Linked DNA regions of Homo sapiens: regions 1, 2, 3, 4, 5 and 7 are each linked to region 6. Evidence: promoter capture Hi-C in human tissues and cell types (Jung and others, 2019). All regions are on one chromosome and are shown on one strand. Each heading gives the region's core, a stretch centred on a gene start or on the middle of the fragment in contact. The rest is flanking DNA. Distances are from core to core; before and after follow the strand shown. Region 1 overlaps SHISA9 (shisa family member 9). Region 2 overlaps SHISA9 (shisa family member 9). Region 3 has its middle 46 kb from the start of SNX29-AS3. Region 4 overlaps SHISA9 (shisa family member 9). Region 5 overlaps SHISA9 (shisa family member 9). Region 6 holds the start of SHISA9 (shisa family member 9). Region 7 overlaps SHISA9 (shisa family member 9).

Region 1 (3,108 bases), core at 566-3,065, 250 kb after region 6:
TCTCTGACCTTTGAATGAGGGTAGAAGCATGTGACTTGCTTAGGAGAGTGAAAGGTGAGCAGAAATGTAGCGGATCTCTTCTGGATGGAAGCTTTAGGAGCCAATACACAGTTAGCCATGTGCTTTTCCCCTCCATCATGGTGATGGGTAATGATCCAGATAGAAGTTGCTCTGTTAACTGGCTCTTGGCAGTGAGGATGGCATGGAACAGAGACCCCAGGCAATGTATGAGAGAGAAGAATCATGAGTGAGCAATACAACTTTGTTGATTTAAGCTACTGAGATTTTGAGGCTGTTGGATGCAGCAGCATAATCCTGTCTAATACAGCTGCTAAGGAAAAGGTCTGGAATTTGACCACTAATCAGCCTGGCTTTTTACCTCCTCTCTGCAGAGCACCAAAGTGGTCTTGGTTTCTCGTTCATGATCCCTGTAGAGAGTTAGGATTTCAGGTTTAGGGTCTTTCCTTTGCTGTGAATCTTAATTTTTCTGAGCTTTTGAAAGCAGACACGGTTACGTGGTTGTTCTCAGGATGTTTTGTCAGGGTTGTTTCTGCCTCCCCAAGAAGCCTGCAGAGATGGGAACTCTGTCCCTCTCTAGACATCCCTCTCTAGACATCACTCATGGTACACATGGCTGCTCAGATTGTAGATGATGATGAAATACTTCCTGTAGGAGTTATTGGCATAGGTTAAAATGACTAAGAAGACAATGAAATAATGACATGGGATGAAATATACTGGAGTAGAATGAACTGGGGACAGAATGGCTTGAAATGGAAGAGGCTGAGTTGCAATGCAATGAAATGAAATGGAAGTAGATTAGAACAGAATGGATTGAACTGGGATCAAATGGGATGAGTTGGACTTTAAATGGGATGGAGTGGCTTAGAATGCAATAGATTGGAGTGGAATGTATTGGAATGATGTGGAGTGGAATACTTGGATATCACAGAATGGAACGAATTGGATGGAACATAATTATTTATTGAGTTAAAGGCATATATTGGAATGAAATGGATTGAAATGGAAAAAGTTGGTAGCTTAGTTCTTTTCTTCTAGGGTCCTACCCCTCCCCACCTGCCCTGGGACTATTTTTGCTGCTCTTAAGTAGTCAACATAATGTTGAGAAAATGATGTTGACTAGATGACCCCTCTGAGGGAGATAATTTCAGTCTCCTCATTAGCTCTACCAGACTGCTCTGCAGGGGATGGCCTCTGGCCTTTCATAGTGTGTTTGTTTGTGTGTGTGGTGTGTGTGTGTGTGTCTGTGTGCATACGTACATATGCACATATGGTGGGGGTAGGGCACTGTGCTAGTCAAGGTACCCAGGCCACAGCCTTTGAACTAATTAGCAATTACTGGGCCTGGGGGAAACGTGGCTGGGGTGGGGGACATTTGTTAATTCCATTTGGTGAAGTCCATGATATTATTTGCTTCTCTGCCTCTTCCCCACTTCCCCCTCTCCCCCTACCCCTATTCCATGTTCCCTGTATAGTAACAAGAGGATTTCTCTGCTTTTTTTTCTTCCCTCTCCCAGAATGAGGGAATGTGCTTGGAAACAGTTGCCGAGGGAGCAATCTTGTTTTTGAAAAAGAAACTGTAAAAAATGTGTTTGCGGGGATGCCAAAGTGGAGGAGCCTTATTTAAGTGAGTGGGGTGGTGGGAATGTGTTTACACAGCAAAAAAACGCAAGCTGGGTGTCTGCTGTTTCTTAAGTGGATGGTATTTTGAAGGGACTTCATGATCTGTCTTTTAATTCACTGTTACTGCTTCTAGTCCAGGAAAGTGTGCCTTCCTGGCATTCTTCATGTAGCTTAGGTTAAGCAGCAGAAAATTGGCAGCCAGTCTGAGCCGGTGCTTACCTAATAGAAAACCGTGTACACGCAGCTCAGACAGAGCCATATACATGGGTGTAACTGGGTGCATCAATGACCACTGTGAGGATTAAATGAGGTGGTACTTGCCAGCATGCTTAGCACTGAGCCTGGCATGTAGTAAACTCTAAATGAGTGTTAGCCCATTATTAATTGTGTGTACACGCGTATATGCACACAATCCTGCCAACACTCATTGATAGGTGCAATTGTATACACATATAAAATTACTTCCTTGGCCAGGCATGGTGGCTCACGCCTGTAATCCCAGCACTTTAGGAGCCTGAGGTGGGCAGATCACAAGGTCGGGAGATCGAGACCATCTTGGCTAACATGGTGAAACCCCGTCTCTACTAACAATACAAAAAATTAGGCAGGCATGGTGGTGGGCGCCTGCAGTCCCAGCTACTCAGGAGGCTGAGGCAGGAGAATGGCGTGAACCTGGGAGGTGGAGCTCGCAGTAAGCTGAGATCGCGCCACTACACTCCAGCCTGGGCAACAGAGTGAGACTCCGTCTCAAAAAAAAAAAAAAAAAAAAATTACTTCCTTGCACAACTGTGCAGACCAATAGCTAGGCACACCTGCGGGATTACATTGTTACACCAAACCCTATGCACACTCCTAACTATGGATACGTATAATCAGGTAGTCTCTCATCTTTGCGCTTCTCCACATCATGTGCGTCATCAAAAGATGAAGGCATGAAAGAAGAAACACATTTACTGAGTGTTTTTTATATAGAATGTATATAAATGCAATTTGCAAATTTCCTTTGGAAACCTGGCTGAGGGCTTTTCAAGTATGCATCAGAGGATTCCTATTTAGAGCTTTGTTTCTGTGTTCCACTCTTTCTTGGTTCCAAATGGCTCTTTCCTTTCCATCTCCCCTGCTGTCATCTGAATCTTCTTCTTACGTGTTTATTCATCCATCCATCATCCGTCCATCCCCCCATCCATCCATCCATCCATCCCACTAAGATGCTTTATGTGGTGCTGAGTGCTGGGCTATAAGAAAGATTTGAATCAACCCTTTCAGAGCCTCTCATCTATCCTAGCATTAAGGAAGTTGTTTGTGTGAAGCTTCGCACTAATATATGTGAAGCAATTTAGCATCACAAAGCTCTGTTGCATACATGATAATACTTGATTAGCAGAGAATGGGAGATCTCAGATTTTGGAACTTGAATGCCTGGGTCCAGATCCCAGCTCTGCCAATTATTTGCTGTAACTGGAC
Region 2 (3,193 bases), core at 567-3,066, 240 kb after region 6:
TGGGCTGGTCTCAAACTCCTGACCTCAGGTGATCCACCTGCCTTGGCCTCCCAAAGTTCTGGGATTACAGGCGTGAGCCACCATGCCCAGCCAATTTCCTTCCTTAATAGGTAGTCTGATCACTTCACCTGATGACTCTGGAATAAGAGTCCTTTCTACTGATAAGTCCACACCATGTGGAAAAATTACGGCAGCCTTTTGTTCCCTCCTATGCCCAGTAAAATTTTTTTTTGACTAATGTCTCATTGAAAGATGGGTTAAAAGATGAGAAGGATTTCCTCTTAGATGCAAGCTCTTCTCGGTCATTGGCAGGTTCCTAAGGAGTTAGATTGAGAAGGTTTCTGCAAAAGCTTGTAGGTTCTGCAGGAAACAGAACAAGGATTAATTATTGATGTCTGTCTCCGAGTAGAATTAGGAAGTGATGACACACATGATACCACCTTGCATTCTCCATGGCATTTCAACAGAATGTATCCTTTCCCTTTCAGGAGTTTTCAAGCCTGTCTCAGCTTGTGAGAAGTCAAGTCCAGTTTTGCCTTGGCAACAATCCTAACCTTCTGTATCTGGCCAGATGGAGTTGGATGAAATATATTTGTTGGCTCTGAAATGGGAGGCAGATAGTGGAATCCATAATAGATGCTGTTGTGTGGGGATCCTAATACGGCAGTAGTGATTGGAGTCTGAGTTCATGAAAAAATATGTCTCAAGAAACCTGGAAAATGAATGAGTGACCCCCAAGTTGAGATAAGTAAAAGATCAACTCACTTATTACATCTATTAGCATAAATAGTGTTGAATTGATCACACTAGGGAGGCTCGTTAGAGAGCCCATAACGGAGGATCTAATCTTTTTATTTTTTTTTTTTTGAGACAGAGTCTCAATCTGTTACCAGGCTGGAGTGCAGTGGTGAGATCTCGGCTCACTGCAACGTCCGCCTCCCGGGTTCAAGTGATTCTTCTGTCTCAGCCTCTCGAATAGCTGGGACTACAGGTGCATGCCACCACGCCCAGCTAATTTTTGTATTTTTAGTAGAGATGGGGTTTCACCATGTTGGCCAGGATGGTCTTGATCTCTTAACCTTGTGATCTGCCCACTTCAGCCTCCCAAAGTGCTGGGATTACAGGCATGAGCCACCGCACCTGGCTGGAGGATCAAATCTTTAATCATGTTCCCTGCCTCATTTCTTTGATCATGCATGCTGCATCTAACTATTCCTGGGCCCCAGTTCATTCCTCTTCCTATGGCTTTGTCCAGCTGTTTCTTTGCCTGAAATGCCATTTTCTCACTCTGTTTTCATGGCTAACTCGTATTTTTCTTCAGGACTAAGCGCAAGTAGATTCCCAAGGATGCTGCATCTCAGATGTTACATGAATGATAGTTCACACAGATAATTTGGTAAAATAGATTTCTGGGCTTTAGCTCCAGAGATTCTGACTCGGTGGGTCTGGGGTAAAGCCTGAGAATTTGCATTTATGCACACCCAAAAGTGATGGTGATGCCGCTAGTCCCTGGGCTATATTTTGAGTGGCTGTGCTCTAGGACTTTGCTTCTCTACCTGTGTTCTGTGGACTAGCAACAGCAGCAGCATCTGAGAGCCTGATGGAAATGCAAAATCTGAGGCCTCATCCCAGAGCAACTGAATCAGAAGCTGCATTTTAATAAAATGTGTGGGTAACTCATAGATTGGAACTTGAGACCAATGGTCCAGGAACTCTTCTTTGACCTTCCTTTCCTAGAATAGGTGCTTACATTTTCCACAGTGTCCTTCTCCTACACTGTTTCATCCTTATCACACTATTATAATCAGGATGGCTACTTTTTAGACCTTAAGCTTTTGATAACAGGGGCGGCATCTTCATCACTGTAGATTCATCTCCTATGACACTGCCTGGCATATAGGAGATTCTCAGAAAATATAAATTGAATGAACAGATATGGCAGCCCCCAGACCTTAGACTCCACGAACTACCCCTCCTCTCAGCCTCATTCAAGTTGTCTTTTGTAGACTCTTGAAGAAAGATTTTCCTTAGTGGTTCACAATTATGGATGGATGTCTCACAAGGGGAGTCTTTGAGCCGTTTAGGAGGACTAGAGTGTTCCACACATATCATCTCTTGTTCACATGCAAAGAATTGCTGCCCTATGAGTCATTTTCCCCCATTCATGTGAGCATGTTATGAGGATTCCTATTTGGAAACTTTTATTATTTTTTTTTTGTAGGATTCATGGCTCCTGACATGGCCAGAGTGTCTGACCCCTTATTTGCAGTTTTTAATTCCATGGTACCCACCTTTACCTTTGCTTTTTGATTCATTGGACATCTTGGGCTTGGAGCATCTATTAGGACACCCTGAAGCATTGCGGGATGGAGGGGAGGAAGATGTAGCTGATGCAACTCCTATCCTCAAACGTGGGGTACTAAGTTGCGAATTAGAGGAATGAAGTTGTCACCACTACAGTGCCATTACCTTCCACTGTGGCCTCAGAAATATCATCCTTTCTGACTGTTTTCTCATTGCAGGGTTGGGTTTTATTTGTAATTTGTTTCTTCACTTCTTCATTTCTCTTCCTTAACTTTATTCCCTCTATTATCTCCCTCCCTCCCTTCCCTCACTCCCTTCCTTTCTTCTTGCCATCTTTCTTTTCTTTCTAATTCCCTTCCTCTATCTCTTCCTTCTTCCCTCTTTTTTTAACTTTCTCCATCCCCTCCTCTCACTTGCTTTTCCTTTCTTCACACCCCTTCCCTCCCTCCCCTCCCTCCCTCCCTCCGTCCCTCCCTTCCTTCTTTCCTTCCTTCCTTCCTTCCTTCCTTCCTTCCTTCCTTCTTCTCTTCCTCTTCCTCTCCCTCTTTCTCTCTCTCTCTTCCTTCCTTCCTGTCTTTCTTTTCTCCCTTCATCCCTTCCTTTACTTTATCGGTAAAGTAGAACCACTCCCTTAAGGATTTCCTGTGGAGTGCCAATATGGAAGCCTGCTATAAACAGAGTTGCCCTAGTTGAAGTGTGCATGGCATGGTCTGTAGCACGAGTCTCCTCCGCATTCCCTGTCTTGGAAACAATTCTTCAGAATTCCAGATTTCGTAAAATTCAGTTTCCAAACCACTGGAATTGACCATCTGAGGTGGACATTTTGTTCCTAACAATTTAAGGTTCATATGAGTAAACAAGACAAGTCAGGTTAGAACCTGTTATTTGG
Region 3 (3,311 bases), core at 281-2,780, 240 kb before region 6:
GGCACAGGGCGCGGTACCTCCTCGGCAAGTCTTTGGAATGGATGAATAATCGGAAGGTTCATGGTGTTGGGAGGGTTGCTGAGCAGGGAAGCCTTAAATCCAGAAAGCCTCATCTGCTTCACAATGAAACACAGCACAGAGGAAGCAACAAGGAGGCAACACACATTTATAAGAAGGGTGAGGCCCCAGGCCAGGCAATGAGGACACAGTGGCTATGAAGACACTGCTCCTGCTCTCAGGGTATCATGTTGGATTTCATCCCACAACGACATAACAGAACAGGAAAACCCGAACCTATAGGGTAAATACAATACCATGTCACTTTAACAGTTTTTCACACCAAAATATGTGGTTTAAGGGTGTGATATTGCAGTTTGGTAGCCTTTTTTTTTTTCTTCCTTTTTTTTTCAGAGACAGGGTCTTGCTTTGTTACCCAGGCTGGAGTGCAGTGGCATGATCACAGCTCACTGTAGTCTTGACCTCCTGGGCTCAAGCGATCCTCCCATCTCAGCCTCCCAAGTAGCTAGGACTACAGATGTGTGTCACCATGCCTAGCTAACTTTTTATATTTGTAGAGATGGGAGGGGTGGTCTCACTATGTTGCCTAGGCTTGTCTTGAACTCAAGCAATCCTCCCCTCTCAGAATCCCAAAGTGCTGGGATTATAGGTGTGAGCTACTGCACCACTGAGCCAAAAACCTGCCTTGGTAGCTTTTTATTAATTACTCATTATTTTATTTTATTTTTTAGATGGAGTCTCACTCACTTTTGTCCAGGCTGGAGTGCTGTGGCATGATCTTGGCTCACTGCAACCTCTGCCTCCTGGGTTCAAGTGATTCTCCTGCCTCAGCCTCCCGAGTAGCTGGGACTACAGGCATGTGCCACCACGCCTGGTCAATTTTTCTATTTTTGGTAGAGACGGGGTTTCACCATGTTGGCCAGGCTGGTCTCAAACTCCCGACCTCAAGTGATCCACCTGACTTGGCCTCCCAAAGTGCTGGGATTACAGGTGTGAGCCACTGCACCCGGCCTCCTTGGTAGCTTAAGAGAGCAAATCCAGAGTATTTCAAAAATACTATGAGATGAAATCATTAGCTCTTTTTGTGGAAGCTTGAAAGGACAGCTTGGAAGACCAAGGAGAGACTTTCAAACATCACAGTAACAGGCTACATCCTGGATCCGCTCTCCTTCAGTGCCTACAACACATCCATATGGTCTGCCCAGAGGCAGGGATTCCGTGAAAGGCAGATGTCACCCGTTCTATACAGATGGTGGCTCTTTCCTGACATGACCAAGGCGAACTGTGCATAAATCCAGAAAGCCTCACCTGCTTCACAATGAAACACAGCACAGGGTGCCTCTGAGAGAGGAATTAGCAGGAAATGGACATGCGCCTATCAAACAATGGATCGATTACATTATCCCACGTCTCCATCCACTGCCCTAGCCTCATTGGCCTTTCCATTCCCTCCATTCTGGTCTCTAAAAAGAAGGGTTCGGCTGGGCATGGAGGCTCACACCTGTAATCCCAACACTTTAGGAAGCCAAGGTGGGTGGATCACTTGAGGTCAGGAGTTGGAGATATGGCTATGTTGCCCAGGCTGCAGTTCTTTATGTATTTTGGATACAAGCCCTTTATCTGATAAATGTGCTGCAATTTATTTTTCCAGCCTTGCCTCCCATTTTCTAATATCACTGAAGAGCAAAATCTTTATAATAAAGTCCAATTTAGTAATATTTTGCTTCGTGACTCACGTTTTCTGTTTGTTGAGCATAGAGAATTTAATTTTTTAAAAAATTTCACAAAATATGAGAAGTTGTTGGCTAGCATTTTTCCAAATTTTTGGGGGCCCATTCTTTCTTTCCTTTCTGGTACTCATCACCTGTACTTTAGACTTTTGATATAGGGTCCTGAAGCTTTGCTTAATAAAATCCTTTTTGTCTTTGTATTTTAGAATGAATACTTTCTACTGATCTGTCTTCATGTTTCCTGACTCTTTTCTCTCTTCTCCATTCTGCTATTAAGCCCATCCAGTAAGTTTTAAAATTTCAGATGTTATATTTTTCAGTTCTGAAATTTTCATTTGATTTTTTCTATGTTCTAGGAGATATCATTTCTTTTCATTCATACTAAGTATATTTTCCTTTACTTTATAAAGCTTTGTTATAGGAGCTGCTCTGTTCTCCTGCAGTGATAATTCCAACATCTGGGGCATCTTAGGACTGTTTTATCCTTTGAGAGTGATGTATTTTCTTTTCTTTTTTCTGTTGTTGCTTTTGTTGTATGTCAAGCAATTTTGGGTTGTATGCTGGGGATTGTGGATATTACATTGTGGAGAACTAGGATTCAGTTATATTCTTCTGAAGAATGTTGAGGCTTTTGCAGGCAATTAACTTGATCAGACTCCAGTGGTAAGCTTTCTATTGCTTCCTCTGGGCAGTGATTCAAATCTTGGTTCAATTCTTTAAGCCTCTGTTGCCCTGTCTGTCCTGCTCATGCATGCTTTGGGGGTAAGCAAGAGATCTGTGTGACGCTCATATACAAATCAGAGGCTTCCTATCCCTGGCTTGTCTCCCTGCTAGGACTCCTCACTCCCCAGTGACCCAGGCTTCTTCCTCTGGTATCTCTGGTCTAATACACAGTGAATGTTAGGCCAGGCCTGGTGGTTCATGCCTGTTAACACTAGCACTTTGGGAGGCCAAGGCAGGTGAGTCACTTGAGCCCAGCAGTTTGAGGCCAGCCTGAGCAACATGGCGAAACTCCATCTACCAAAAATACAAAAATTAGCTGGGTGTGGTGGTGCATGCCTTTGGTCCCAGCTACTTGGGAGGCCGAGGCAGGAGGACTGCTTGAACCTGGGAGGTGGAGATTCTCATGTGCTGAGATTAAGCCACTGCACTCCAGCCTGGACAACAGAGCGGGACCTCGTGTCAAAAAAAAAAAAAAAAAAGTGAATTTTGAGAAAAACTTTATTGACCTCTGGTGTGCTGCTTTGCAATTGTGGTTTGCCCTCAGACCAGTGTGGAGGGGAGGAGAGACTCACCAAGGTTTTGAGTTCCTTGCATGTCTTCACTCTGAATCGCCAGGTAGGTCTTTTCGTCTATAAAGTTATCTGTAGGAAGTTTGGACTATAGGGGCTTAAACCACTCAACTCCAGCTGGAGTCAATTCCTTTTTTGTTCAGGGTGCACAAGCCTGGAGTTTTCAGATTCCCTTTTACTCCTTCTGTGACTTCCATCTTTCCTGTCTTTCTGTCCTTAGGTATCTTGCAGTGCTGCTAGATTTTCCCAGGAATCTTATTCATTCCCATGA
Region 4 (3,181 bases), core at 378-2,877, 190 kb after region 6:
TTTGATCTTTGTTGGTTTAAAGTCTGTTTTATGAGAGGCTAGGATTGCAACTCCTGCTGTTTTTTTGCTTTCCATTTGCTTGATAGATCTTCTTCCACCCCTCTATTTTGAGCCTATGTGCATCGTTGCACGTGAAATGGGTCTCTTGAATACAGCACACAGATGGGTCTTGATTCTTTGTCCAAGTCTGTGTCTTTTAATTGGGGCATTTAGCCCATTTACGTTTAAGGTTAATATTGTTATGTGTGAATTTGATCCTGTCATTATGATGTTCGCTGGTTGTTTTGCCTGTTAATTGATGCAGTTTCTTCATAGCATTGATGGTCTTTACAACTTGGCATGTTTTTGCAGTGGCTGGTACCAGTTGTTTCTTTCCATGTTTATTTAGTGCTTCCTTCAAAACCCTTGTAAGGCAGGCCTGGTGGTGACAAAATCTCTGAGCATTGGCTTGTCTGTAAAGGATTTTATTTCTCCTTCATTTATGAAGCTTAGTTTGGCTGGATATAAAATTCTGGGTTGAAAATTCTTTTCTTTAAGAATGTTGAATATTGGCCCCCACTCTCTTCTGGCTTGCACGGTTTCTGCTGAGAGATCCACTGTTAGTCTGATGGGCTTCCCTTTGTGGGTAACTCGACCTTTCTCTCTGGCTGCCCTTAACACTTTTTCCTTCATTTCAACCTTGGTGAATCTGACAATTATGTGTCTTGGGGTTGCTCTTCTCGACGAGTATCTTTGTGGTGTTCTTTGTATTTCCTGAATTTGAATGTTGGCCTGCCTTGCTAGGTTGGGGGAGTTCTCCTGGATAATATCCTGAAGAGTGTTTTCCAACTTGGTTGCATTCTCCCCATCACTTTCAGGTATGCCAATCAAATGTAGATTTGATCTTTTCATGTAGTCCCATATTCCTTGGAGGCTTTGTTCATTTCTTTTTACAATTTTTTCTCTAAACTTCTCTTCTCACTTTATTTCATTAATTTGATCTTCAATCACTGATACCCTTTCTTCCACTTGATCGAATCAGCTACTGAAGCTTGTGCATGTGTCACGAAGTTCTCATGCCATGGTTTTCAGCTCCATCAGGTTATTTAAAGTCTTCTCTACACTGTTTATTCTAGTTAGCCATTCGTCTAATCTTTTTTCAAGGTTTTTAGCTTCCTTGCAATGGGTTCACACATCCTCCTTTAGCTCGGAGAAGTTTGTTACTACCGACCTTCTGAAGCCTACTTCTGTCAACTTGTCAAAGTCATTCTCCATCCAGCTTTGTTCCGTTGCTCGCTAGGAACTGCGATCCTTTGGAGGAGAAGAGGCGCTCTGGTTTTTAGAATTTTCAGCTTTTCTGCTCTGGTTTCTCCCCATCTATGTGGTTTTACCTACCTTTGGTCTTTGATGTTGGTGACCTACAGATGGGGTTCTGGTGTAGATGACCTTTTTGTTGATGTTGATGCTATTCCTTTCAGTTTGTTAGTTTCCTTCTAACAGTCAGGTCCCTCAGCTGCAGGTCTGTTGGAGTTTGCTGGAATTCCACTCCAGACCCTGTTTGCCTGGGTATCACCACCAGAGGCTGAAGAACAGCAAATATTGCAGAACAGCAAATATTGCTGCCTGATCCTTACTCTGGAAGCTTCGTCCGAGAGGGGCAGCCACCTATATGAGGTGTCTGTTGGCCCCTGCTGGGAGGTGTCTCCCAGTTAGGCTACATGGGAGTCGGGGACCCACTTGAGGATGCAGTCTGTCTGTTCTCAGAGCTCAAACTCCATGCTGGAGAACCACTGCTCTCTTCAGAGCTGTCAGACAGGGATGTTTAAGTCTGCAGAAGTTGTCTGCTGCCTTTTGTTCAGCTATGCCCTGCCCACAGAGGTGGAATCTAGAGGCAGTAGGCCTTGTTGAGCTGTGGTGGGCTCCGTCCAGTTCGAGCTTCCTGGCCACTTTGTTTACCTACTCAAGCCTCAGCAATTGTGGACGCCTCTCTCCCAGCCAGGCTGCCACCTCACATTTCGATCTCAGACGGCTGCGCTAGCATTGAGCAAGGCTCCATGGGCATGGGACCTGCCAAGCCAGGCACAGGAGAGAATCACCTTGTCTGCCAGTTGCTAAGACCTTGGGAAAAGCACAGTATTTGGGCAGGGAGTGTCCCGTTTTTCCAGGTAGTCTGTTGTGGCTTCCCTTGGCTAGGAGAGGGAAATCCCCCAACCCCTTGTGCTTCTTGGGTGAGGTGACGCTCCGCCCTGCTTCAGCTTGCCCTCCTTGGTCTCCACCCACTGTCTGACCAGTCCCAGTGAGACGAACCAGGTACCTCAGTTGGAAATGCAGAAATCACCCATCTTCTGCGTCTGTCATGCTGGGAGCTGCAGACCAGAGCTGTTCCTATTCGGCCATCTTGGAAAGCCGTAATTGAGAATCAGACTTTTAAACATTATATGACCATTAGAGATGTGATATGAACCTAACACTTTTTGACACCAAAACCCATTTGTGGAAATACTGATCTGGTATGGAAAGGAATATAGCTTTGAAGTTTCCCGGGGGCATAGAGTCCTGGGTTCTGTTGGCAGCAGAGGAGTTGGAAAGGGTGAGGAACATGGGGCAGCCAGTTCAAGTGGCTGCACCCCTCTTGTTCTGAGTCTTGGCCCAGGGCTTTACTTCAACCTAGGGTGACAAGATGACTTAGATGAGAGAAACTTCTATCGTAGATCCTGCCTGTCACTATAACTGTTGGGTTAAGAAAAGCCCATCTCTGCCACTTACTAGTTGGTGATCTTGGTCCAGTTGCTGTCCATCTTTGAGCCTCAGTTTGTTCATCTATAAAGTGGGATTGATGATAAGACTTATCTTGCAGGGATTTAGATGGGATTAACTGCATAATGCACAAAGGGTCCATACAAGAGGAGTTTTCATGAACACTGGCTGTCATGGATTTCCAGATAAGGACCTGCAAGAAGTGACTTAACTATTGAAATTCAAGGTATCATGTGCATATGAGAGGTGGGGGGAGTGGGGCTGATTATAAATCAGCAAAATCCCAGAGAAAGCCAGGTCTCTGGGAAAAGTCTCGTTTCCCTTTAGTAACTGGTGCTGCAGTTCGGCCCTGGATTTTTGTCCAGGCGCCCACATGTGCTTTGAGGATTTCCTCAGGAGTCTGGTATTTCGCTTCGTTGACCTCCCCAATCTCTGCCTTTGCATC
Region 5 (3,084 bases), core at 555-3,054, 170 kb after region 6:
TAGGGCCTGCCCACTGTTGCTCACTGTTGACATTGCAGGGATGTGAATGAGAGAACTCCGCTTCTCTGCAGTGCCCGGGGACTAAATGATTCCCTGCCCCTGGTTCCAGCTCAGTCGCTTTGGAAGGCTTCAGTGCCCATCAGTCTCCTAGTGGACCGTTGGCTGGCCCAGGCCATCTCACCAGTGTCCTCAAAGTGTCAAAGCCACTTGAGTGAGGTTGAGAAGCGGTGGCTGGAAATAAAGCCAGTACCCAATGCAGGTAAGCCTGCCGGATCAAAGTTAATGAAGCCTGTCCTCAGGAACCACAGTGGAGTTTGGCAACATCTGGTGTGATTACTACCATCATGGGTTCTGGAGACATGGCCGGTGGGGCAGTAGCTTGGTGGTGGGGAGTGGAGAGGAATTCAGGGCTTTGCAGGGCCAGGGGAGGAAGTGATGGGGCAGGACCTGCTACCTTTTAGTTATCTCTTGGCGAAATTCCAGCCGGAGGCCTTCCTGCTGTCTTGTGCCCATCACACATCCCATCTGGGTCACTGAGCAGAATCGCTGAGTTGCTGTGATTTTTAGTTCTAGCAGCTCCTACGCTTGCATGTATCATCTCATTCAATCCTTTCAAGACCTATGATCAAGTCAGTCAAAAGTCTTATTTCCATTTTATTTTATTTTAAAAAAGTAAAATCTTTTTTTTTTTTTGAGACGGAGTCTTGCTCTGTCACCCAGGCTGGAGTGCAGTGGCACGATCTCAGCTCGCTGCAACCTCCACCTCCTGGGTTCAAGGGATTCTCCTGCCTCAGCCTCCTGAATAGCTGAGATTACAGGCGCCTGCCACCACACCCAGCTAATTTTTGTATTTTTAGTAGAGATGGGGTTTTACCATGTTGGCCAGGCTGATCTCAAACTCCTGGTCTCAAGTGATCCACCCACCTCGGCCTCCCAAATTGCTGGGATTACAGGTGTGAGCCGCCATCCCTGGCCTTATTTTATGTTTTGAGACAAGGTCTTGCTACTTTGCCCAGGCTGGTCTTGAACTCCTGAGCTTGAGTGATCCTCCTGTCTTGGCCTTTCAGAGTGCTGGGATTACAGACGTGAGCTACAATGCTCGTCCCTTATTCCCATTTTATAGAGAAGGAAACTGAGGCTCTGAGGGATGAAATTGTTCATCCAAGCTCACACAGGTAGCAAAATGCACAGCCAGGTCTGGCTAAGCCCAACTCTCTCCTATCTCTCTCTCTCTCTCTTTTTTTTTTTTTTTTTGTACAACAGGACTTATCATTTCTTGAGGATTAATTGAGGTCCCTGGGGACTCAGGGTAGGAAACTTATCAGGTGGTCGAGGATGAAAAGTGGGAGCAAAGAGTCTTTGCCATCTTTCACAGTTCTGTTCAATGTAGACATCTGGCACTTGCTAACTACCAGAACACAAAGTCACTTGGATGTGGAGTATTTGCCAAGGGCATTGATCTCCCACGTGGGGTCCCTGGACTAGCATCATCAGCAGCAGCATCACCTGGGAATTTGTTAGAAATGCAAATTCTCAGACCCCAGCTCAGACCTAGTGAGTCAGAAATGCTGGATGTGGGGCCCGGCAATCTGCAGTGCAAAGTCAAATGGTGGCAAAAAGACATGTCCATCTAGAACCTGTGGCCATGACCTTATTTGGACAAAGAGATCTTTGAAGATGTTATTAAGGTAAAGATTATGAGATGAGGTTATCCTGGATAAGGGTGAGTCCTCAAACCAATGACAAGTGTCCTTAGAAGAAAAGGGGAGAGGATTCACAGAGAAGGCCATGTGAATGGGAACGAGGCGGATACAAGCCAAGGAACGCCAAAGATAGCTGGTAACATTTAGAAAGCAGGAACGAGGCATGGGACAGGTTCTCCTGCAGCGCGTCCAGAAGAAACCAAGTCTGTGGACTCCTTGGTTTCAGACTTCTGGCCTCTAGAACCGTGAGAATAAATTTCTGCTGGTCGTTTTTTTTTTTGTTTTTTTTTTTTGTGGGGGGTGCAGAGTCTTGTTCTGTTGCCCAGGCTGGAATGCAGTGGCGTGATCTTGGCTCACTGCAACCTCTACCTCCCAGGTTCAAGTGATTCTCCTGCCTCAGCCTCCCGAGTAGCTGGAATTACAGGCGCCCGCCATCACGCCTGGCTAATTTTTGTATTTTTGGTAGAGATGGAGTTTTGCCATGTTGGCCAGGATGGTCTCGAACTCCTGACCTCAGGTGATCCACCCCCCTCGGCCTCCCAAAGTGCTGAGATTACGGGCATGAGCCACCATGCCTGGCCATTTCTGCTGTTTTAAAGCACACAGTTTGTAGAAATTTGTTATGGTTGCCACAGAAAACCAATACAAAGCCCTCCAGGTGGTTCTGATTCACAATAAAGTTTGAGAACCAATGGCTCAGAGCTGTGCCTCTCCATTTCTTACCCACCCAAGGATCAGCCCAAGGATGAACATTTTTTTAATAGGCTTTTAATGGTGGTTTCTATGCACACTAAAAATTGAGAGCATTTAGCCTTGAGGATACGGTGAGTAAATACCTTTTGTCTCTCTGCAGTCTGGCCATACCCAGCCAAATGAGATATATTCTTCAGCCAGCTTCCTACACTTGTGGGAGTACTGCTATTTTTATTGTTATCATCATTACTATTATTTTTTTCTTTTCTTTTCTCTTTTTCTTTTTCTTTTTTTTTTTTTGAGGTGGAGTTTTGCTGTTGTCACCCAGGCTGGAGTGCAATGGTGGGATCTCAGCTCACTGCAACCTCTGCCTCCCAGGTTCGATAGATTCTCCTGCCTCAGCCTCCCGAGCAGCTGGGATTACAGGCACATGCCACCATGCCTGGCTAATTTTTGTGATTTAATAGAGATGGGGTTTCACCAAGTTGGCCAGGCTGGTCTCAAACTCCTGACCTCAGGTGATCCACCTGTCTCGGCCTCCCAAAGTGCTGGGATTACCGGTGTGAGCCACCGTGCCTGGCCATTACTATTATTTTTATTGCTAGTTTTCTCTGCTTCTTTGCAGTTGGCAGGAGAACAAAGTGAACCAGTTTATGGTAGAGATGATTGTACCCAGTTAGGACCCTAT
Region 6 (3,283 bases), core at 218-2,717:
GTGTGTTTGCAAATCTTTTTTGAAACATCAAAATGTGACTTTTTTTTTCAAAGAGAAGGGGCGATTAGCCAAACTTCTCATTTGGAGAAAACTTGCAACAGAGTCCCAATAAATCCTCCCACCCTTTCTCAATTCAGGGGACCCTAGTAAACCATTTTACATGTCGCCCAACTTTTCGTTCTCTGAAGATGCCCTGAGAAGCCCTTGACTGCAGCCAAGTGGAGAGGAGGGTTGTGGAAACATTATCTCCTTGCAAATCGCCTAGCAGCCTGCAAAGTGTATACTTAGTTAATGCAATTAAAAAACAAAACGCCGGGGCGTGGGGAGATCTAAATTTGGTGTAGCAGCTTTGGTGCAAATCCTGTTTTGGGGCTACTGGAGTCAAATTCAAGCAGAGGAGAGAAAGAGGTGGGAGAAATGAGAGAGGGCCTCCGGGGAGCTGGAATTCGCTAGGAGAGAGAGGGCAGATTTGGAAACACAGAGGAGACGGGAGGCTGGAAGCTGAGGAAGCAAGGCAGAGCTCTGCAGCCCCCGGTGAGGATTTCCGGGGGGATCCGTGGGGACAGGGGCCAGCCAGCTCCAGAGACCGATGCGCGGGCTCCAGGTCCGGGAGGGTGGCTGAGGCTGGGTGCCCAGGCCTTGCGCTGCGCCAGATCCGGGAGCGCAGAGGCGGCGCCGCGGTGTTCCCTCCTGTGGAGCGCAGAAAACGCTGCGGGGGCGAAGAGGGACAGAAAGCGGCAGGTTCGAGAGGCTGGGGGACTTCCAAGGAAAGACCTTCCAGGACACGCCATAGCCTCGGCCTTGTTCGGCTGTCCCCTCTTACCCCCGACCTTCTTTGATTCGTTCATCCCGAGCCCCTCTCCCCCGGAGGGTGCTTATCCCTGGCTCAGGGGCTTGCCACCTGTCCTTCCCAGCTCCGCCTGGGTCCTTGCTTGGGCCCAGAGAGTTGAGCCATGCGGGTTGCGCTCAGGGCTGGAGGGCGCAGCCGGGAAGGGCAAGGAGGCCCCGCACGCCTGGGAGGGGCGATCCTGACCAGACTGCACCCAGTCTGTCTTGGAGTGAAAGCCATTTAGTCTGTCCCCATCCTCTCCGAGTCATCCTTCCCCTGATGCACAGATTTCGGCCGCCGCTCCTGCACACGCACCGGTGAAAAAGCTACGAGCTGAGCCGCCTCTGCGCTCTGGACAGGGCTGAGCCGCGCCTCCTACCCAGAGAGGGCGCGGGAGGTCCTGCCGCGGTTTTCCACCTGCCTGGAAATCCGAGCGGCTCCTCTAGCCTCGGCTGCTGCCGAGCTCGCTCCTCCCCGTCCGCTCGCCTGGCTCAGCTCTGCACGCCCCCCAGCTAGCTCCCGCTCTAGTCACCTCTTCCCCGCGCCCCCGCCCCTCTAGAGCTCGCGCCCGCCCCCCCCCACCCGCGCCTCCTCTGCCCGCCCTCCTCCCCCTCCCCCTTCCCTCCTGCCCTCCCTTCATTCCACAAGTGTCGCTTCGCTCTCTTCAGCGCACTTGGCGAGCTGGTGAGGTGAGAGGGATACTGCGAGAGGGCTAGGGGCGGCCAGTCCGGGGCTGCCGGCCAAGGCTAGGCGCTGCCAGCCCGATTCTCCTCTGCTCTCCACCCCCGCCTCACCCAGTGGCCGGCCGGACCTGCACCCCGCGCTTGACCCCGCTCATCCTCCCCCCGCCCGGCCGGGCGCGCTCCTCCCCGGCCGGCCCCTCGGCGCGCGGCGCGCTGGAGGCGAACGCGGGCTGAGGCGAACGCGGGCTGAGCCGAGCGCAGTGGCCGCCGACCACCGAGCGCCCCGCGCCGCTCCCTGCATGTGCGGCCCGCGGCGGCTCGCAGCTCCCGGCAGCAGCCTCGGCAGCTTCGGCCGCGCCTCGAGAGGCGGCCGCAGAGGCTCCAGCGGCGGCCGAGCGGCCGAGCCCGGGCTGGGAGACACCATGCGCCGCGTCCTTCGGCTGCTCCTCGGTTGCTTCCTCACCGAGCTGTGCGCCCGCGTGTGCCGGGCGCAGGAGCGAGCGGGACACGGGCAGCTGGCGCAACTGGGCGGCGTGTTGCTGCTGGCGGGGGGCAACCGCTCCGGGGCCGCCTCCGGAGAGGCCAGCGAGGGCGCTGAGGCATCGGACGCGCCCCCGACCCGGGCGCCCACGCCGGACTTCTGCCGGGGCTACTTCGATGTCATGGGCCAGTGGGACCCGCCGTTCAACTGCAGCTCGGGCGACTTCATCTTCTGCTGCGGGACTTGTGGCTTCCGGTTCTGCTGCACGTTTAAGAAGCGGCGACTGAACCAAAGCACCTGCACCAACTACGACACGCCGCTCTGGCTCAACACCGGCAAGCCCCCCGCCCGCAAGGACGACCCCTTGCACGACCCCACCAAGGACAAGACCAACCTGATCGTCTACATCATCTGCGGGGTGGTGGCCGTCATGGTGCTCGTGGGCATCTTCACCAAGCTGGGGCTGGAGAAAGCGCACCGGCCCCAAAGGGAGCACATGTCCAGGTGGGCTGCCTCCCCTTCGCCCTCCCCTCGGGGCTTCGCTCTCCCTGCTCTCTCCTCCCCACCTTCCCCCAGGCAATGGCGCTCCCCACGGTCCCCGCTCCCCGCATCCCAGCCTCTCCGCTGGGGGATGTCACCGGGAAGCCAACTTCGGCTTGGAACACGGAGAAGGGGCGCTGGGCTCAGCACAGGTGTGGGTCTGAGCGTGTTCGTGTGTGTGTGAGCGTGTGTGTGTGTGTGTGTGACTCTGCTCCCTCACCCTCTGGCCGCCTCCTCCCGCTGGTGACTGAGGCGGACTTGAGACACGTAGCCTGGGAGCCCGTGGCCCCGAAATCTTCGGGTTTGGGGAGAGGGTCCATGGCACCCCTCGGATTCCAGGTGCTAGCTTTTTGGTAAACAGGGGCAGGCGAGCCCGAAAGGGGAGGGGGGCGTGTGTGAGCCCGAGCGCGCGTGTGTGAAGGAGGGAGGGTCAGAGTGAGTGCCGCCTGCAACTCGTACGACTCGCGAAAAGGAGACGAGGGAGGTGGAGTGAGGGGAGGGCGAGAACAAAAGCCTTGCTTGGAGCGGCCGCCTCGCTTTCCCAGAGCTTCGCCGTCCCTGGATTTGGGACCTCAGCTGCCCCCGCCCCTTTACCCACCTCATCCCTTTCTCTGGCCACCACTTCTCCCTGCCCGGGGCCGTGGCCATCGCTGCAGATTGAGCCCCTTGCCCTGGCTGGCGTGGACTCCGGGGGCCCGAGCCCCCTCCTCGCGCGCCCTCACTTCCAAGCACCCTGATTTCGTCAACTTT
Region 7 (3,480 bases), core at 673-3,172, 210 kb after region 6:
GTTTTCATTTCTTTTGAGTAGATACCTAGGAGTGGAATTGCTGGGTAATATATATTAAGATTATATTCAACTTTTCAAGAAAGGAATAGCTTGGTTTTTAAGCTGTGTCAAAGTGCTCTCCCCACCACATATAGAGGGTTGTGTTGAGCATCTCTCATAACCTGGAATGCCCTCCACACATGGCTGCAACTGAGATATTTGCAATGGAATGTTCAGGTCCTTCCATGCCCAGCCATTTGCTGGAGCATTTCCGCCTACTAGTCATTCTGCCAAGCCTCCCATTCCTGCCACAGCCAACCCCAAGGAAGGGGGAACACAAAGACGTCTGTGGCTGTCTGAACGTGGCTTTTTCTCCAGATGGGACAGATGCAGTGGCTGTAAAAGCAGCTGCGATGTTTCCGTGCTGAAAAGGGCTTTTCATGCAAGAGACGAAAAGAGGAATGTCATGCTGGAAAGGTGAACTTTGGGAGCTGGTATGAAAAGAATGTGATGTGTGCTCCCTGTTTCTCTGGGACAAATGAGTCATGTTTGAGAAATGGTCCCTTTTCAGCCTCAATGACTGCTTGCATCTATTTCAACATCCAAAAAAAGTACAGGGAGAGGAGAGCTGGAACTTGAGCAAGACTCAAAGGTTGCTGGAGACTCGGAAACAGTCATCTGATGGTGTGACAGGTCAGTGAGCCAATCAGCCAGCCAAAGAGCTGTGATGAAGGGAGAGTCTGTGATTGTAGAGTGACACATGGCCTCATTTATCCTGGAGAAAGCTGGGGAATTTGGTCTCAGACAGCTGGTACTGAATTGAGTCTTTGTATGTCCAAGAGACAAGATATTCATTTAAATTGAACAGATGCCAATGTTACTTGGGCTCCTTAGTGGTAACTGATCCTCCCCTCATGGGCCTGAAGGTATTAAAAAATATTTAGTACGTGGCTTCTAAGATTTAACTGTAGCCCTTAAGAAGTAAACTCAGACATACAAGAGATGTGAAACTGGCTAGCCATATGCAGAAAACTGAAACTGGACCCCTTCCTTACACCTTATACAAAAATTAACTCAAGATGGATTAAAGACTTAAATTTAAGACCGAAAGCCATAAAAACCCTAAGAGAAAACCTAGGCAATACCATTCAGGACATAGGCATGGGTAAAGACTTCATGACTAAAACACCAAAAGCAATGGCAACAAAAGCCAAAATTGACAAATGGGATCTAATTAAATTAAAGAGCTTCTGCACAGCAAAAGAAACTATCATCAGAGTGAACAGGCAACTTACAGAATGGGAGAAAATTTTTGCAATCTATCCATCTGACAAAGGGCTAGTATCCAGAATCTACAAAGAACTTAAACAAATTACAAAAAAAAAAAAAAACCCAAAAACAAAAAAACAGCTTCCCTTATTTCTTAAGGTGATCTCAGATGGCAGACTCCCTGAGTTCAAATCCTGATTGCAGAAGATCATTGAATAATTTATTTAAGTCCTCTGTGCCTTGGTTTTCTCATCTGTAAAGTCAGACTGAAAACACCTCCCTGTTTTGAGGATTAACTGAGATTATCTGTGTAAGACACTTAGCATATTGGTGGGCACATAGAAAGGCCAGAGTAAACATTAACTATCATTACTATTAGTTTGAAATTTATTTTTTATTATTAAGATAATTTTCTTTTTGGAGCTTCTATTTAACCAGGTGGATGAAATTCAAATCTTACCCTATTCCAGGTAACCTCAAGCAATTCAGTATTGAATATTAAGTATTCAATGCAGTATTGAATTGCCTCTCCCCAAAGATTTGGATTCTGTAAATGTGTGGCAGAATTGTGTTTAAAGGAGGGTAGGAGACTATGATTGTTCCTGGATAGGTGAGAGGCCATCTGGTCTTCAGTTATCATCTGTTGAGGCAGACATTCGTGGAAACCCATTTCATCTTGTATTTGCAGATGAGAAAACTGAGGCTCAGAGAGGTTAGGAAACTTGCCTAAAGACACACAGCTAGGTAGTAGACTCAAAACCAGGTCTGTCTGACTTTCGGGCCTTTGCTCTTTCCCATTTGTCTTCTAAAAATGACTCCAAAGGCCTTTCTATCTTATGCCCAGGTGGTCATACCACTCAGCAAAAGGGTAAGGATTTTTTTTTGTTTGTTTTTAAAGGAGATGGACTAGGTTGTTTCATGATTCGTCAGAAAAAGGCCTGAGGACTTGTGTCAGATGCCAAATAAAGCTTTAGTTCTTGATATGTTTAGAGAGCAATTTGGTGTTTTAGTTAATAAGAGAAATTCAATGCATATTTGTTGAATTGAAGCAGGGAGGAGAGAAGGGAAAAAATAAGAGAAAGAGGGAAGAAAGCAAGAAAAAAGGAAGAAAGATGGGAAGTGAAGAAGAAGGGAAAGAGGGAGGCAGGGAGGAAGGAAAAAAAAGGTTTTGATTTTCATTTGCCAGCCACACTGTTGGAGTATATTGGTTTTATGGAGCTTTACCAAGGTTTTATGCCTTGGAATCTCTCAAGGAACATTTTCCAAATATGCATTCTGGGACCCCACGCCACAGCTACTGAATCAACTGGAATCCCTGGGGTCAATTCTGAGCAAACAAACTCAGGCAATTTTATACAATACCTCTCATTGAGAAGCATGAGTTCGTGATTTTTTTTTTTAACAAAACAAATTAAAGACCAGTCAAGGGGTTCTTCTGGTTTGTGAGTGGCTTCATCTCTTATTTGGATGCTTCTCAGTGATGTTTCTGTTGGGAGGAGGTGCTTGGCATTGCCTTTCAGAGGCCATTAAAAGGCCCCTCTGGTTCATGGCTCCCACTCGCCTTTGTGATGGCCAAAGAATGTGTGGGGTTGACATTCTTCCTGAAACTAAATCCGGTGTCACTTAGAATTAGGGTCTCTTTTTACCCTAATTCCATCTCAGCTTGCAGGCAATAGAGTAAAAAATTTGAGGCCAGGCGCAGTGACTCACGCCTGTAATCCCAGCACTTTGGGAGGCCAAGGCAGGCAGATCACTTGACGTCAGAGGTTTGAAACCAGCCTGTCCAACATGGTAAAACCCCATCTCTATTAAAAATACAAAAATTAGCCAGGCGTGGTGGTACATGCCTGTAATCCCAGCTACTCGCAGGGCTGAGGCACGAGAATCGCTTCAACCCAGAAGGCAGAGGTTGCAGTGAGCCAAGATCATCCTGCTGTACTCCAGCCTGGACAACAGAATGAGACTCCATCTCAAAAAAAAAAAAAAAAAAAAAAAATTGAGAACATCTTCCTGGTTTTCAGGCCTAGACTGACCTAAACTAAAGTGTTTTCATTTGTTGCAGTGATGATGGTGGTAATGGCTCCCTCAAGGGGCCAGTCACAGAGTATCTGCTGTCTCTTTGGTAAGAGGGCTGTCTCAGCCAGTCAGGGTTAGTGTTAGAGAGATCACGTATTCCAGGGAGTGTCCATCCTACCAAGCCTGGAGATTGTTGCTTGATCTGTATATCCCGTG

The links. Contacts are between HindIII fragments. The study calls those that stand out against the background at their distance.
Region 1: a contact is called between a fragment that was not itself captured here and the fragment with the promoter of SHISA9 in region 6, in 8 of the 25 tissues and cell types used here (H1 embryonic stem cells, bladder, dorsolateral prefrontal cortex and 5 more).
Region 2: a contact is called between a fragment that was not itself captured here and the fragment with the promoter of SHISA9 in region 6, in 3 of the 25 tissues and cell types used here (bladder, dorsolateral prefrontal cortex and thymus).
Region 3: a contact is called between a fragment that was not itself captured here and the fragment with the promoter of SHISA9 in region 6, in 2 of the 25 tissues and cell types used here (dorsolateral prefrontal cortex and mesenchymal stem cells).
Region 4: a fragment that was not itself captured here is called in contact with the fragment with the promoter of SHISA9 in region 6 in 2 of the 25 tissues and cell types used here (H1 embryonic stem cells and dorsolateral prefrontal cortex).
Region 5: a fragment that was not itself captured here is called in contact with the fragment with the promoter of SHISA9 in region 6 in 2 of the 25 tissues and cell types used here (H1 embryonic stem cells and mesendoderm cells).
Region 7: a contact is called between a fragment that was not itself captured here and the fragment with the promoter of SHISA9 in region 6, in 5 of the 25 tissues and cell types used here (dorsolateral prefrontal cortex, heart right ventricle, liver and 2 more).

The regions. Positions count from the first base shown.
Region 1 is chr16:13,154,341-13,157,448 of GRCh38, forward strand. All of the region lies in intron 2 of SHISA9 (shisa family member 9), which reads left to right. Among named protein-coding and RNA genes, the nearest start is that of SHISA9, 250 kb to the left of the region's middle. The HindIII fragment of the contact is 6,009 bases long and covers 1-3,108 here.
Region 2 is chr16:13,136,608-13,139,800 of GRCh38, forward strand. All of the region lies in intron 2 of SHISA9 (shisa family member 9), which reads left to right. Among named protein-coding and RNA genes, the nearest start is that of SHISA9, 240 kb to the left of the region's middle. The HindIII fragment of the contact is 4,939 bases long and covers 1-3,193 here.
Region 3 is chr16:12,655,751-12,659,061 of GRCh38, forward strand. No RefSeq gene overlaps it. Among named protein-coding and RNA genes, the nearest start is that of SNX29-AS3, 46 kb to the left of the region's middle. The HindIII fragment of the contact is 4,296 bases long and covers 1-3,311 here.
Region 4 is chr16:13,090,573-13,093,753 of GRCh38, forward strand. The region is part of intron 2 of SHISA9 (shisa family member 9); the gene reads left to right. Among named protein-coding and RNA genes, the nearest start is that of SHISA9, 190 kb to the left of the region's middle. RefSeq lists a silencer at 1,970-2,129. The HindIII fragment of the contact is 4,168 bases long and covers 1-3,181 here.
Region 5 is chr16:13,071,986-13,075,069 of GRCh38, forward strand. All of the region lies in intron 2 of SHISA9 (shisa family member 9), which reads left to right. Among named protein-coding and RNA genes, the nearest start is that of SHISA9, 170 kb to the left of the region's middle. The HindIII fragment of the contact is 4,813 bases long and covers 1-3,084 here.
Region 6 is chr16:12,900,131-12,903,413 of GRCh38, forward strand. It overlaps SHISA9 (shisa family member 9), which reads left to right and starts at 1,468. Exons shown (of 5, transcript NM_001145204.3): 1 at 1,468-2,497. The coding sequence starts at 1,935. The HindIII fragment of the contact is 6,671 bases long and covers 1-3,283 here.
Region 7 is chr16:13,109,990-13,113,469 of GRCh38, forward strand. The region is part of intron 2 of SHISA9 (shisa family member 9); the gene reads left to right. Among named protein-coding and RNA genes, the nearest start is that of SHISA9, 210 kb to the left of the region's middle. The HindIII fragment of the contact is 4,488 bases long and covers 1-3,480 here.